Regions from separate parts of the Homo sapiens genome. Here region 1 is linked to region 2. The links are contacts of gene promoters, found by promoter capture Hi-C in human tissues and cell types (Jung and others, 2019). All regions are on one chromosome and are shown on one strand. The core of a region is centred on a gene start or on the middle of the fragment in contact, and the rest is flanking DNA. Distances in the headings are between cores, read along the strand shown.

Evidence for each region. Contacts are between HindIII fragments. The study calls those that stand out against the background at their distance.
Region 1: a fragment that was not itself captured here is called in contact with the fragment with the promoter of DLK1 in region 2 in 1 of the 25 tissues and cell types used here (H1 embryonic stem cells).

What each region holds. Positions count from the first base shown.
Region 1 is chr14:100,894,770-100,901,517 of GRCh38, reverse strand. All of the region lies in intron 2 of RTL1 (retrotransposon Gag like 1), which reads left to right. It overlaps MEG8 (maternally expressed 8, small nucleolar RNA host gene), which reads right to left. Exons shown (of 51, transcript NR_146000.1): 2 at 6,748; 3 at 6,479-6,646; 4 at 3,786-3,925; 5 at 2,433-2,561. SNORD112 (small nucleolar RNA, C/D box 112) reads right to left here and starts at 3,598; the gene lies at 3,522-3,598. The HindIII fragment of the contact is 4,695 bases long and covers 1-4,165 here.
Region 2 is chr14:100,724,868-100,732,087 of GRCh38, reverse strand. DLK1 (delta like non-canonical Notch ligand 1) reads right to left here and starts at 5,196. Exons shown (of 5, transcript NM_003836.7): 1 at 4,953-5,196; 2 at 3,629-3,692; 3 at 3,022-3,152; 4 at 1-46. The coding sequence starts at 5,019. The HindIII fragment of the contact is 15,317 bases long and covers 1-7,220 here.

The DNA of each region.
Region 1 (6,748 bases), core at 569-3,068, 170 kb before region 2:
CAGGGCTGGGGTGCCGGCCTGCTGATGAATGCAGCCCACACGGGAGTCGGGAGCTGCCTCTCCTGGCCCATTCACAGGGGTTCAGTTCCCAGGAACTGTGGGACCTTTATCAGGGGACCTCTGCTAGACAAGGCTCTGTTCTGCAGTTTCCAAAGGAGTTTTCTGCCTTATGCTCCCAGTGCAGGCACTCAGCATGTGTGTGTGCGCGCATGTCTGTGCGTGTGCGTGTGTGCATATGGGGGATGGCTGCGAGGCCAGCCAGGGCTCCTTGTCTGTGAAATGCCCAAGGTCCTCGGGGGCAGAGATGCACCTCCATGGAGCAGAAAAATTTCAAGGAGGGCAGAGTCATTCAAGGATGGAGCCCATCCTCACTGCAGCCTCATTGTCCTGCTCCTGACAACCCAATCTGTCAGCCCTGGGGTCGCCACAGCTGCTCCGACCCGCCGTGGGGGGGCAGCATCGTGTTGCAGGTGGAGTGCGCAGGCTGGTTTGCCTTCCTGGCTAACAGACAGACAGACGGCCCTGGCAGCTCAGTTAGGCACTGCAAGCCCTTCGGGAAAAACTGTTTGTTTCTCGGGAGCCTCTGTTTTTGTTGGTTTTTGTTGGTGCTGTTGTTTTAACCTATTAAAAGGTTGATTTGAAGCTGCAGGTGTGAAAATGTTTGGGAGAGTGACATTTACATGTGTCATTTACATAAACGGGGGAGGGGGCGCGATGCAGGGTGCAGAACAAGAGGCACCCACATGGGAAATTCTGTGAACAGGGATTTCTGGTTCAGGATAGCTGGTGGTGCAGAAAGGGTTCTGAAGGGCTTTGGTGTAGATGTGAAAAGTCACCGACCCAAATCCCTATTTAGAGGCAGACGCCACAGGGCAGCAAGCCCTTTAGCCCCTGCCGGACACGGAGGGAACACTCCCCCTACACTCCTTTTTGCTGTGGTTCCCTTGCCCCGTTGCTTGAGGAAGTTAGGAAATGGGATTCTGGCATGAAGCGCAGGGTTAAATTGCAGAGACCTGGACAGCTCTACATATGGCCGCAGAGAAATAGCCCCAGTATCAGACATGTGCCTGACCAGGCTCACGCTCCCGAGTAAACAAATCAAACATTTCGGAGAGCGGAGCCTTTGTTCACAGCGGCCGAGGAGGTTCCCTTTTGTGTAAAGGGCAACGTGCAAGTCATGCTTCCACTAGGTAAGGCTGTACTAACACACAAAAAGCTCATTTAGCCTGAGCCCAGCCCAGGGAGAATTTTCTGTGAAATTTAGGAGAAGTCAGGTTTGGCCAGAAGTTTTTCCAGGAATTATGAACCTCTGGAGACTGTAACCACTGTTCCTTCCGAGTGACCCTTGCCAAAGTCTGTAAAATATGAGCCTCAAAAAATCTGCCTGTGGAGAAGTCTGACTTTTTATATGTTATTTACATAAAAATAAACTCTCACCAAACTTTTCGGGAAACCCGATTCAAAGTGGTAGGGCAGCCCCTTCCCCGGCCCCCAGGTGTTCAAGAAAGCACACTTTTCCCTGGGAAGATGTCTGGGAGGGAGGCGAGCATCAGCTTTTATTGCCCCTCACACTCTCTCTGGCATTTGTGTTGTCCTCTGTTGGGTCTCCCTGCCCTGAAAGGGAGCAGCTGCCCGTCTCAGGGAGGGGGTTAAGCATTTCATGACGGGGTAAGATGGGGAGAGCTACCGAGTTTTGCTGGGTACTGCGTGTTGGCTACTGTGCTGGATGATTTATTTGCGTTATTTCCTCATTGAGATCTCAATAGCCCTGTGTGAGAGAGATTATGAGTCCTTTTTTTTTTTTTTAATATCAGGAAACCAAGGCACAGAAACACTTGGGGATTTGCCAAGGACACGCAGCTCAAGTCTGTTCTGTAGCTGGGTCTGTGCTCAGGGTGGCTGGCTTCCTGCAATGCCTCCTTCTCCCTTCCCCTGGGAGAGAAAAAAAGGGACCAAAAGCCCAAACACTGCCAGTGGCTCCTGTTACTCCTGACAAGCTCCCCAGGGGGATGCTGCCTTGGCCTCACAGCTCCTCTCCCCCAAAGCCTGTGCTCTTTTTAGAATATGACTCGGTCCCAAAGGTCCCAGCACTTGCTCTCAGCCCTGTCCTTCCCCAGAGCCCCTCATCGTTACTCCAGTCATCACATGTCCTCCTCCTGTTCTGGGACCAGACCCGTTTACCTCTGGCAAGGAGGAGCCATAATGGCAATCAGCCATTTCCAAGCTGTAATCATACCCCGAACCTCATCCCCAGAACTCACAACACTGAGACGCTACTCCCGCGCTGTGGACCCCATGACTCTGGGTTCTGGGGCCCGGCACAAGGCAAGCATCAGGGGAACGTGGTATAGCGCAGGCTGGGGCAGTGGGGGGGTGCCAGCCTGAGCCCCACCCAGAAGGGTGTTTGCAGCTTTACAACACTGCAGACTTACCCAGCGCCACGGGACAGATGACACGATCCTCCGACACTGCCCATCTGCCCATCGGTGCAAGAAAGAATTCGAGGCAGTTTTCACTGAGGCAAAGTCAGACCCAGGCAACACTGGGGGAGCCCAGGGCTCCTAGAAAGGGACAAAGGAAGGAGGGTGAGTAACAGTTGACCAGTTTCATCAATTCTAGAAAAATGCAAAACATTCCCTTTAATTGGGAAAAAAATGTCAATGAGGCATCCCACTTCCAGGGTCAGGGCTTCGGTGGGCTTCTGAACACAGTGTTTCGTGGGGCCCATCTAACTTTGGGCTCCCCAACAGGGATATTTCAAGCCTGCTCTTTAAGGCCGGGGAGAAACTGGCTGAAAAGGCACGGCCGCGCAAAGCCTAAGAAGTAGGGAGCCCGCTGAGAGAAACAGGTAGCCCCGTGGGGGTGAGGTGCGCCTAGCAGGTAAACACCAGTGGGGAGGGGCTGAGGCTGGCAAGTTCCAAGACAGACCCTAAAGGGTCTTCCATGCCAGGATAAGGCCTTATTTTTTGGACCCCGTCCCGGAAGCTCCAGGAAGTCAGATGGAGGCTTTAAAGCAAGACAGTAACAAGGTCAAAATGCCATTTTAGAAAGATCACTCAATGAAAATAAACTTTTGCAAACAATTTAACCCACCACCCCATCTCTAAGAAGCTGGGGTAAAGGAACAGTCGAGGATGTGTTTACAGATTTAGCTGCAAGAATGCTCACTGCAGTGTCGTTGGTAACAGCAACAAAAAATGGAAACAGCTTAGATCTTTTTTATCGGGCATTAGTTGAGCAGAATCGTATTAATTAAAACCTCGATTTGTGACACGCTTCCTCACTGATCTGCATTAAGCACCATTTTTATGTATTCTTTTTTAAAAAATAATTTAATGAACACCTATGAATCTGTGACCCACCCTGACGGCTAGGACTGTGACCAAAGCTTCTCCTCCCCCAGAGCACTTTCAGCTGGGATTTTCAACAGTAGAAGAGTGTAATCAACAATGGTGCATACATACCGTGGAATATTAAACAGCTCTTAAAAGGAATGAAACAGCCAAGACCTATTGTCTTCTAATGGACCTCAGTGTTTTGTGCAGAACTGGATTAATCATGATCTTTTGTTCATAAACACTGTCTCATCATTGGTCCAGAAAAGCCCCCTTTTATTTTGCTAATTTATGCACTCATATATTCATTTATAATAATGTCATAAACACTCGTGAGCCCACTCCCCAAACCCAAATCTCAGCAATTACTTACACCTGCCGCCACCAATTCACTGCCCCCCCCCGCCCCCCACCCCCCCACCCCCCCCCCCGCCAACCAGGGTAAAGGACCTGAGGCTTTCATGCCAGCAGCAAGGTGGTTAAATAAACTCTGGTGTGTACAGCTCGCAGGATACTGAGGTGTTGTTATAAGGAATAGTGTTGATCTTTATTATCTCTAAGCAGACTCTTGAAGGAAGAAACACAAGCTGCTGCGAGAGGAAATGTACACTATGATATAGTTTATGTAAAAAATAAACAAAGTCATAGATTTTAGAGGTATATTTATCTACATATGCAAATGCACAGAAAAAAATATCTGGAACCAGACGCCTGAAACTGAGAAGAGCAGTTAATTTGCTGGGGGGTGATGGGGAGGGATCGAGGGAAGCATTAAAGATGGCTTTATCTGCAGTGTTTGATTTTTACTAATGCGTGTATTAATTATCAATCCATTTCTTGCATAATTAGAATAAACATTTTGTGTGGGGGGGATTTAATTTGCTTGTTCGCCTGTGGGTTGTTTTTGTTTTTGTTTCTGTTTTTACAAATACAAAGCAAAGGGCATGTTTCCTGATGGATTGGGAGTGGGTACATGCCCAGAGCAAGTTCTGCAGACACAGGGGATTTATTTTATCGCGAATATGTTTTTTAAAAAATATCTATATGCTCTCACTGGAGCCCCAAGCCTCCGAGCAGCCTGTCAGTGACATCGGGCTGGCAGGTGTGTGCCCAGGGCTGTGATTTCACCACCCACAGCCCCAAATCCCTCCCAAGCTGTCCAGCACCCACGGGGGAGTGCTTTACTTTTTGGTCTTTAAAAGGACCCGAAAGCCAATGCCCTGGCCGGTGTTCTTGGAGATTAGCCGAGTGGAATGAGACCTTGGGGGAATGTGACATGAGATGGGGCCAGGCGGTGGGGACAGGGACCTCTAGAGAGCTGCGGCCCGGCGGCTCGCGTTCGCAGCCTAGACGGCTTGCTGGTAAGGAGCTGGGGCCTCACTGTGCCCCCTGACAGCTTGATTCCTGTGCAAAACACACAACTGCCATGTTTCTTCCCGACTCTAACCCAGAGGGACTGTGGCTAAACGGCACTGGCATTTCTAACTGTCAGCTGCAGGAGAACGGGAAGCAACCTTTGCCCACCCTAGCCCACCCCCACATCCAGAGGAGGCACCCCGACTCCCGTCAGAAGCCCCTCTGTCCCCAGCTCCTGCTTGCACACTAAGCTTCAGGGCCCCCTGCAGCCGTCACAGGCTCTTGGAATCCTCAAACAGGCACAGGGTTACTTGTGTGACAAGGATGTGACAAGCATACTCCCATCTACGTAGAAAGGCACTGAGGCTCCCAGACACCAAGAAGACAAAACTAAGCCCACTTTACACCCAGTCGGGTGGCACCCTCGTCCTGCTCAGTCTCCATCCGCACAGATCACTAATTGGTTAATTGGTTAAATGTCTTCCCTCTCACCAAGCTAATGCAGACAGAGGCCTTCGAGAACTTCTTTACCCTCTGCCAGGCAGAGACCTATTTTCAACCATGACTTTGTGCGGAAGAAATCTGAGACAGGTTAAGCAGCCCTCGGCCTGCATGCCTCGCTCTTAATCGCCTTTCCTGCACGTGAAGCCCCACTATTTATTACACAGCATTTTAGTTTGGACTGAGTTTGATTCCTGTGAAAACCTTGAGGTGATTGCTATAGTTTTGCAATTTTTCTTTCTTTTTTTTTTTTTTGAGACGGAGTCTTGCTGTCACCCAGGCTGGAGTGCAATGGTGCAATCTCGGCTAACTGCAACTTCTGCCTTCCAGGTTCGAGCAATTCTCATGCCTCAGTCTCCTGAGTAGCTGGAACTACAGGCATGCACCACCACGCCCAGCTAATTTTGTGTATTTTTGTAGAGACGGGGTTTCACCATGTTGGCCAGGCTGGTCTCAAACTCCTGGCCTCAGGTGATCCACCGGCCTCGGCCTCCGAAAGTGCTGGGATTATAAGCGTGAGCCACCACACCCAGCAAATATGAAATATTTTTATGGTAAATAAAAATGCAGTGCCCAGACTGAGGTTACCTGCATCCAACCTGCAGGCTGGGGTAGCCCCACTTGGAGACACTCCACTCCTCTCAAAGTCCGCATAAACCCAGCCAGTACCAATGAAAGATATGCCATTGCCTCAAGAAAATGCCCTCTGCAACCTCACGTCGTCCTTCCCCTCCACCCCGACCCTGCTCCCCACACCTTCCCTTTGGATTCCAAAAAATGAGAAGAGCTTGCAAAAGGGCCATTCGGCGGCAGATCCACCTAAAATAAGTGCCTTTTCTACATGTGTTGAGCATCTACTATGTGCCAAGCATTTTATGTTTTATTTCCTTTAAGGTACCAATCAAGGCAACTCTTGAAAGTTGCATCCCCATCCTATGTAAGACGGGGAGGATGATTTACAGCCACATGTCCACAGTCATCCATCTCCCCTAAGCAAACCCTGCCCTGTCTGACCCCCACAGTCATCCATCTCCCCTAAGCAGATCCTGCCCTCTCTGACCTCCAGGTAGACCCCTGAGCCCCATCCCAGATGTCCCCACGCACATCTGTATATCATGGTGATAAACTTTAACACCGCCCTTGGTTTCACATAGCAGACAGACAAGAGTAACAGGGTTAGTGGGTTTTTGGATAACACACTGTGTTAAGGTTATACGACCCTGACTCCTCTCAGACCCTGTCTCCCAAAAGGGGCTGTTAGGTGGGAGAGAGAAGAGCACACATACCTGTCAGGGCACCAAGCGAGTCTGGAAGGCTGGTCTTCTTCAAAGTCAGACTAACAGGGCCCCTCACCCCTCCAAGCCAGGTGCCATCTTGGGGGCAGCAGGGCTGGGTCATGCCCTGTCCTCAGAAACCCCCTGGACCCACTGCCCACTGGGGGCAGTGAGCCTCAGCTGCAGAATGAAGGGCTTGAGTTAGTTCTATTCTAAAGAATCTACAAATTTGCAAATTGTCGAAATTTACACATTAGGACAATGAATATCATTTTTCAGACC
Region 2 (7,220 bases), core at 3,947-6,446:
CAGGTCCTGTTGTTGGCACAGGGGGCCGAGGAGCAGGCCCGAACATCTGCGGGGTGACGGGGAAGACGAGAACTTAGCTTCCTCTCCATACACGAGCGTGATGCGGGCCCCAGTGGGCTTTAAAATGGCTCTATGGCCACCGAGTGGGGTCTGGAGTAAGAGGGTTTAGGGAGCCCCCTCAAAAAAACCCATGAAGTGAGTAAGCTGAGGCTCAGGAAGCTGAAGGGGTTTCCTTGCCTAAGGTCACAGATCAGAAAGTCGTGGCCACTGATATTCAGGCCAGGATAGCTGTTCCCTTTGCCTGGCACCAGGTCACCCCATATCCAGCGACATGTCCGTGACGTTCACTGTGGACATCATGCCCCTCCCTGCAACAGCGTGCCTAGCTGAGATTCCCTAAGGCCTGTCTCCACCAGACAAGACTGCATCTCCACCCTCTCCTGTTAGGGGAGGGGTCCTGGCCAGCCGGGGGATGAATACAGCCCAACCCTCAGAAAAACCACCAGCTCTTCATACTTTTCCATCAAAGAGGGGCAGTGGGGGGGATGGAGATGTAACGACCCCCCTCCGTCAGGAATCAAGAAACCTGTTAACCCCAGCACTACCACGTGTCCCTGTGGTCTCTCTTTCTGCACTCAGGCTCTGAACTCAAGGGGTCCCTGGTAAAAAGGCTTCATCTTTTAAAGCCAGGGAAATTAGAACTATTGAGCGCTCTCCTATCAGCACAGGTTTCCATGAGCACTGGTATATTCCCACCATCTTTTAACACCTTCCATCACGCACACTTCATTATTCAGGTTCAGCAAGCCAGGGATGAGCTGAACACAAGGGCCTGAGTCAGGGGCTCTCTGATGATGGAGACCCCAGCTCCCCAGTGGGGCCAGGAAGGGACCCCTGTCCTGCCCTGTATCCGGCCTGCTGCCATGTGGCAGCAGAGTTCAGCTCCTACCCATTCTGGGCCTCAGTTTCCCTACTTATAAAAAGAGGGTCTTTCCCTGGCCAATCTCTGAGGGACTCTTCAGCTTTGATTTTCTATAATTTGAGCTGCTGTACCTGCCAAACAGAAAGCCAGGGCCAGTGAGAGACACAGCAAGCTAAGGCAGGCTGGAGGGGGTGGGGGGAGGGGAAATCCCCCGTGCTGAGGCCACACATGTGCGTATTTTTTCCCCCTCTCAGAGAGACCCACACCCTCGTGGAGGGGAGACTGCAATCAATCAAGGAGGAAGAGCCTGAACGTTGTGTTGATGGACTACCCCGTGGTGTTCCATGGAAGCCCGGCTTGGTGCAAGGACACATAAAGAGGATTTATCTTTACGGGACGGCACCGGCAAGGCATTAGCACGTGGCGCCTCCGCGTCAGGCTCCTTATTCTCTGCACCCGACTCTCCTGTCACTCAGAATCTTAAATTTAAGCTAAAAAGCTGGCGACCACCCCCAGCTTGTCCCTGCAGCTCTCCCTGCTATGCCAATCCTGGATCAGCCCTCCTGAGCCTCCAACCCCAAGACAGGGGTGAATTAAGCTGCTCTGAGGAAAAGGCTGCTTGGGGGTCTCTGCTGGGACAGCAGCTGTGGCCACGACAGCCTCAAAGATGGGCAAAAAGGGAGAGGGAGGGCTATGTCTTCTCTGGGACCCCAGACTCTCTGGCCATCCCCAAGCTGGCTGCCTTTGTCAACTTGGTGGGGAGGGGACATACCAAGGGCCCATGAGAAGGGAGGCATTTGTCCGGAAAATTTCAGCAAGGGTGTACGGCATTTAGATACCAAAAAGATGGGCTCCAAGCTAAAAGCCTAACCCTGATCCCAAATGGTGGCTTTGCTGGAATCCCCCAGATCCTCAAACGACTCAGAGCTGCTGCCGCTGCTTCTGTGAGGGGCAGCAGAGATGCTGGCCAGAGCATGAGTCAGCTGCGGGTAAACCTTGCACCATATTGCAGGGGCTGGAATTAAGGACCAGAGACAATTTGGGGTGGGAGGGAGCTCAGCTTCAGAACCACGGCTGCCCTGGCTGTACAGGGCAGGGGCCACAACAAAATGCTCTTAGGTGTTCCTTAAGGAAGGATGTTAGATGCAATCGAAGATAAAAATTAACTCTCTTTCTGGGGCTGGGGGAAAGGGTTGTAGCTGGCTTTTTGCCCAACTTCTTTCATATTCCTTAGCAGACACTTGTGCTTCTCTGATCCTCAGTTTCCCTATCTGTACCGTCTTTACTAATGTTGGGGACTGAGGGACAGGGGCCCTGAGGGCAGGCTGCTACACAGCTGGGAGTTTTTTTGTGGACTTCAGTTTGCTCAAACGTTAGGGCTGGTTTTGCCAAATGAAAATGGGCTTAGACGAACATTTCGCAGCCTGAAAATGCAGTGACAGCCAACTCTCAATTGCTTGGGGTAATGGAGGCAAAGATTGCATAAATTAATGAAATCAACAGATAACACCCATCTTCACTTTAACCCTTTCTCAGCTTTTCCCAACTGCAGCCTCCCCCTACACCTGACCCACTCAGTCCAGGCCCCCCAGCCCTGTCCTCCTGGCCCTGACTCAGCACCTGCCCCTCAACCACTGAGCAGTGCTGGCCACCCCCCACCCCGTTTGTTTGTTTGCAGCCTCTTTACAGTCTTGCGTGTGCTTTTCTAGGGAGTCTTAGCTCTGAGATCCCCAGAGCCCTGTCCATCACTGGGCTTCCATGACCTGGACAGGCAGCCTGGGGTCTGTGGTCCCACCGGCCCAGCTGTATGTGTATTTTGTGACTCTTTATTCAACAGGCAGCTCCCTGGCCCCCACGCCATGTTCCCTCTAGGTGCTGGGTGCTGATGGCGCAGAGAAGAGCAAAATAAAGTCCCTACCTCTGAGGAGGCATTCGGTACCCACAGGAAATTTATAAACAGATCTTTAGAATACAGGGCACGGAGTGTGCAGGAATGAGGAAGTGAGGAACACCAGCAACAGGAGACTGGGAGGAGGTGGTAGGGGCTAGGGCAGGCAGGTAAGGACGCAGAGCTGAGGTGAACAAAGGCGAGTGCCAACCTCTATCACAGAGCTCCCCGTCCCAGCCGTCGGTGCAAATGCACTGCCCGGGTTCTCCACAGAGTCCGTGAAGGCAGCCGGGAGAGGTCACGCACTGGTCACAAAGGGGACCCTGCCAGCCAGGCTGGCACCTGCAATGGGTGGGGGAGAAAGGTGGGGACATATGAAGAGGGCAGGGGTAGAGAGGCAGCTCAGGCTACTTTCTGTGGAACCAAGGACCCTTGGGGGTCTTTGCACAGTGGCAGCCGGTGGTCCTGGGAAGTAAACACCAGCCACCTGAATGGGAAAACTTAAAGAGAAAACATGCCAAGCTGAGGGGGCCGACTTGGAGGGGCCCCGAGATCCCGGGGGAGTGCTGCGTTTTGCCGCAGTGGCCTGCAGTGGTCCCACCTGCCCCCCCACCTCTGAGAACGCAGACAGGAGCTGTGGCTGCCCCCCCCCCGCCCCCCCCATCTCCCCAGCTCGCCCCACCAGTTTTCTGCAGGGGCCCGGAAGCTGTTTGCTGCAGCGTAGTGGCCAAGCCCCCTATTTTTTTCTGCCTGACTTCACGACTCCCCAGGCTTCTGCGTGGCCCCTACAAGCTGCCTCTGAGGAGCCACTCTATTACCTGCAAACATTGTCATCCTCGCAGAATCCATTTTGGGGGTTGCAGGCCGGGAAGCATTCAGCCCCTGAGGTACAAGAAAGGTTATACAATTCACCCCACCAGGCCCCAGGCCAAGGCAAAGGCTGTCTTCGCCCACACAGCCCACCACTGCCCTCGAGGGCACCAACAGCCCTCTTGGGTCCTACCAGCCTGGCACACAGTAGGCACTTCCTATCCGAGCATGGATGGGGCTCAGTGCACTCAGGAAAAACATCTCTGCCACGTTCCCAGCAATGAAATGACCACAGTACACTCTCCCTCGTTCTTAGGAGCAGGAGAAACACCTTCTCCTCGGACTCCCAAAAGCAAATACGACACCTCAAGTCCTCCTAACAGCGGGGACGGGGACCGTGGAGGGAAATATGTTGAGCCCTGGGCATGCAGCCTGACCGTCACTTTTGCAACCTGAGCTGAAAAGAGGAGCAGATTTTGAGGTGTTCAACTCCGGGAAAGCCCAGACAGGTTCACCTGGTGGGCGCCCCAGTAAGGCGTCTGCATTCTTTTTAAGGTTCATCCCTATTAAGCCGGGCACCCAGGTCAAATCTTCCCTCTTTCCCCTACCCCAGACTCTTCGCATTAAAAAAACGATGACGACACAGGGTTTTGCTTAGCGGGCTGAGGTTGCAACAACACTGCTTAGAGATTCTGACACTTTAACAGGCACCTACTGTGTGCATTTACTCAACCAGCTCCCCAGCTTTCTAGACAGCCCCCTTACAACCACTGGTGCAATGAGTGGGGGGGCGCTGCAGGAAGGGGGCAACTCTCTCGCTGTCAGAGACAGATGGCCGCTGCAGACAGAAGTGTCGCAGCCCCTCACCTACAGAAACGCGCCACGCAGGAAGGGCTCAGGCTGGGCTTCTCTGGGAATTGGGGGCTAAGACGGCAAAGTCGTCCCCCACTCCCGCCCCGAGACCTGTTCCAGAACGCTCACACAGGGACACCCCAAAGTTGCACCCCAGAGTATTTTCATAGAAGACTCCACAACAGCACCCCATTTTTCCATACCTCCTTGCTCAGCGCACCGACACCCCTCTGGCGCCACTTCTGCAGGGCGGGAAGGGGCTGGGGGTCTCACACATCCCCTGCGCCCTGGGACCCCTGGGACGGGCCTTGGCATGCGAGCGTGGTGGGTAGGGCGAGACAGGCACAGCGCGGGGCTTAGGGCTAGGCGGGACGGGCGGAGTTGGGGCTCACGAGACGGGGCGTGCGGGGCACCGGGCGGCCGGCGGGGAGTCGCAGGCTTCCCCAGAGGGGGCGCGAGCCGGGCCGCCGGGGAACTCACCATAGGTGCTGTGGCCGAAAGCCAGCAGGAGCAAGAGGACGCGCAGGAGGGCTTCGGTCGCGGTCATCTCTGGGCGGCCGGGGTCGCGGTCCCGGGAGCGGTGCGGGCGCGGGTCCGGCTCCTGGCGCCGCACTGGGCTTCTGGTTGCGGACGCGAAAGGGGGCGCGGGCGCGCAGCGAGGGGAAAGCCAGGGCTGCACCGGGCTGCGCGCTGCGCTCTCCACCGCCGCTGCCGGGGAGCTGCCGCCGCCGCCGCGCGCGCCGCCCTTTTCGTACCGCCTCCCCCCTCGCGGCCCCCGCCCCCCGCCCCCGCCTCCGTGCGCACGGGGCCGGCGCCGGCCAGTCCCTGTGACCCCCTCCCCTCGCAGGGCCGCCCCCGACCACGGCGGCGTCCCAGAAGCCCGCTCGCGCACACGGGTGCACTCTTGGCTAGACGGGCACAGGTATCCCGCGAGCGTTTGGTACACGTTCCCTCACACTGTACAGCACGCGGCCGCCGCGCACATACAGGCCTGCCTAGGACAAGTCGCAGGAATCGAACCTGGGCCGCAGACCTCCCCGGAGAGCACAAATCCGCACGCAGGAACACCGAAACACTTATCGCTGAAGTCCCGGGCACACGTGCAATGGTTAGATACCCAGGAAAACACAAAGGCGCACTATGAAGATGTGAACTAAGCACATAATTACACACGCACACAGAAAAACCCCCAGGAAAAGCCCGACGCCCCCTGTACCCCTGGCCATGAAGACGCAGAAAAATGCAGTTGCCCCGTGGCAACCCACACCCCGCAACGGAAACGCACACGGCAACTCAAACACACTGTAGCCCAGACGCCGTATAGACACAGTCCTAGGTGGCAGAGGGTCAAGCGGACCTGCGGTTACCCAACCATGGGCATCCTCCCCCATGTGCCGACCCCCTGCACACAGACGCTTACGCAGAGCCACCTGCACACCCAAACACGCAAACACACGTATAAACAGACGGACACCCGTGCCCGCATTCAGTCACACCCACCCCCGCACACACAGCATCTCAGTCAGGGCCTTAGCCGCGCTGAAACACAAATGCACCGACTCTTACGCACACATGTACGCACAGCCATGCACCTGATACCCACAAGCACACATACCCAGCTGACTCGTGGTCACACACACTGACAAAAACATATACGCAGTCCCCACACACACACGATCGCATCTGTCTTTGTCCACAGTGGCATGCATGGGCAGCCTCACCAATGTGCTCTCACATACACACAATAGCACTCCAGGCACTCGGCACGTATTCCAGACTCACTGGGAGACCTTCTCTGAGGGGTCGCCCGCTGGAGAGGTGGAGGTAGAGGATGCTGATTGCCAGAGACCCTCTTCCTCTGCAGAGCTCCCAGGGAGAGGGAGTGCTCCTCAGACACCCCTCCTCCCCATTGCCCCCGGCTTAGGCTTAGAGCCCTGCTGGAGAGGAAAGCTCTGCACCCCTGCACCCAGTCTGGATGGGGGAGGCTCAGAAAGATAGGGAGGGAGAGGGGTAGGAGGGGATTAAAGATATTTCACCTCCTGGGGGAAGGGTCCCAGGCGTCCCAATCTTTGGGTGGGTCGTTTAGGATACTTAATTTGCATATATTAATTTGCATACATATCCTAGATGCAGGGAGTGGGTGCCCACCCAGCTCGCGGCCTCCCCTTCTTCACAGTGCTGCAGGGGGGTGTGATCTCACCACTGTGAACCTGGAGGCTGGATGCTTTGACCTCCTGGCCCTCTAGTCCAGCCCTGGCAGGTCTGAGCACAGATTTCCCATCTTAGCCATAGATGTGGGAAGGCAGGCCCATGGGCATCCCCAGGCCCACCACCCCTAAGTCAGTGCTCCAGTAAGGCACTCGGGATGGGTACAGGGATGGACAGAGACCAGAGCTGCTCTGGGCTGGCTCCAAGGAGGCTGGAGGGAAACTCCCAGCCCCTGGTGGAAGATATCCCTTCCCTGATGTTATCTGCAGAATGCCCAGATAGGTAGGGGCTGCTGGGAACGGCTTTGGGGACAGGCTGTAGGGAGCAGTTGGGGTGCCCACTGTGTGCCTGCCACATGCCCTTGCATTCCTGTGACCCTACTTTCTTCCGTGGACTCTTTCCTCAAGTCAAGAAACCAACTTCAGTGATGGAAGGTCCTTTGCCCAAGGCCCTTGGCCTAGAACGAGAGTGTCTGGCTGACAGGCCCAACCCTGGGTGCCAATGTCCACTGCATGGTGATCGCCAAGGTCTTCCTGACCA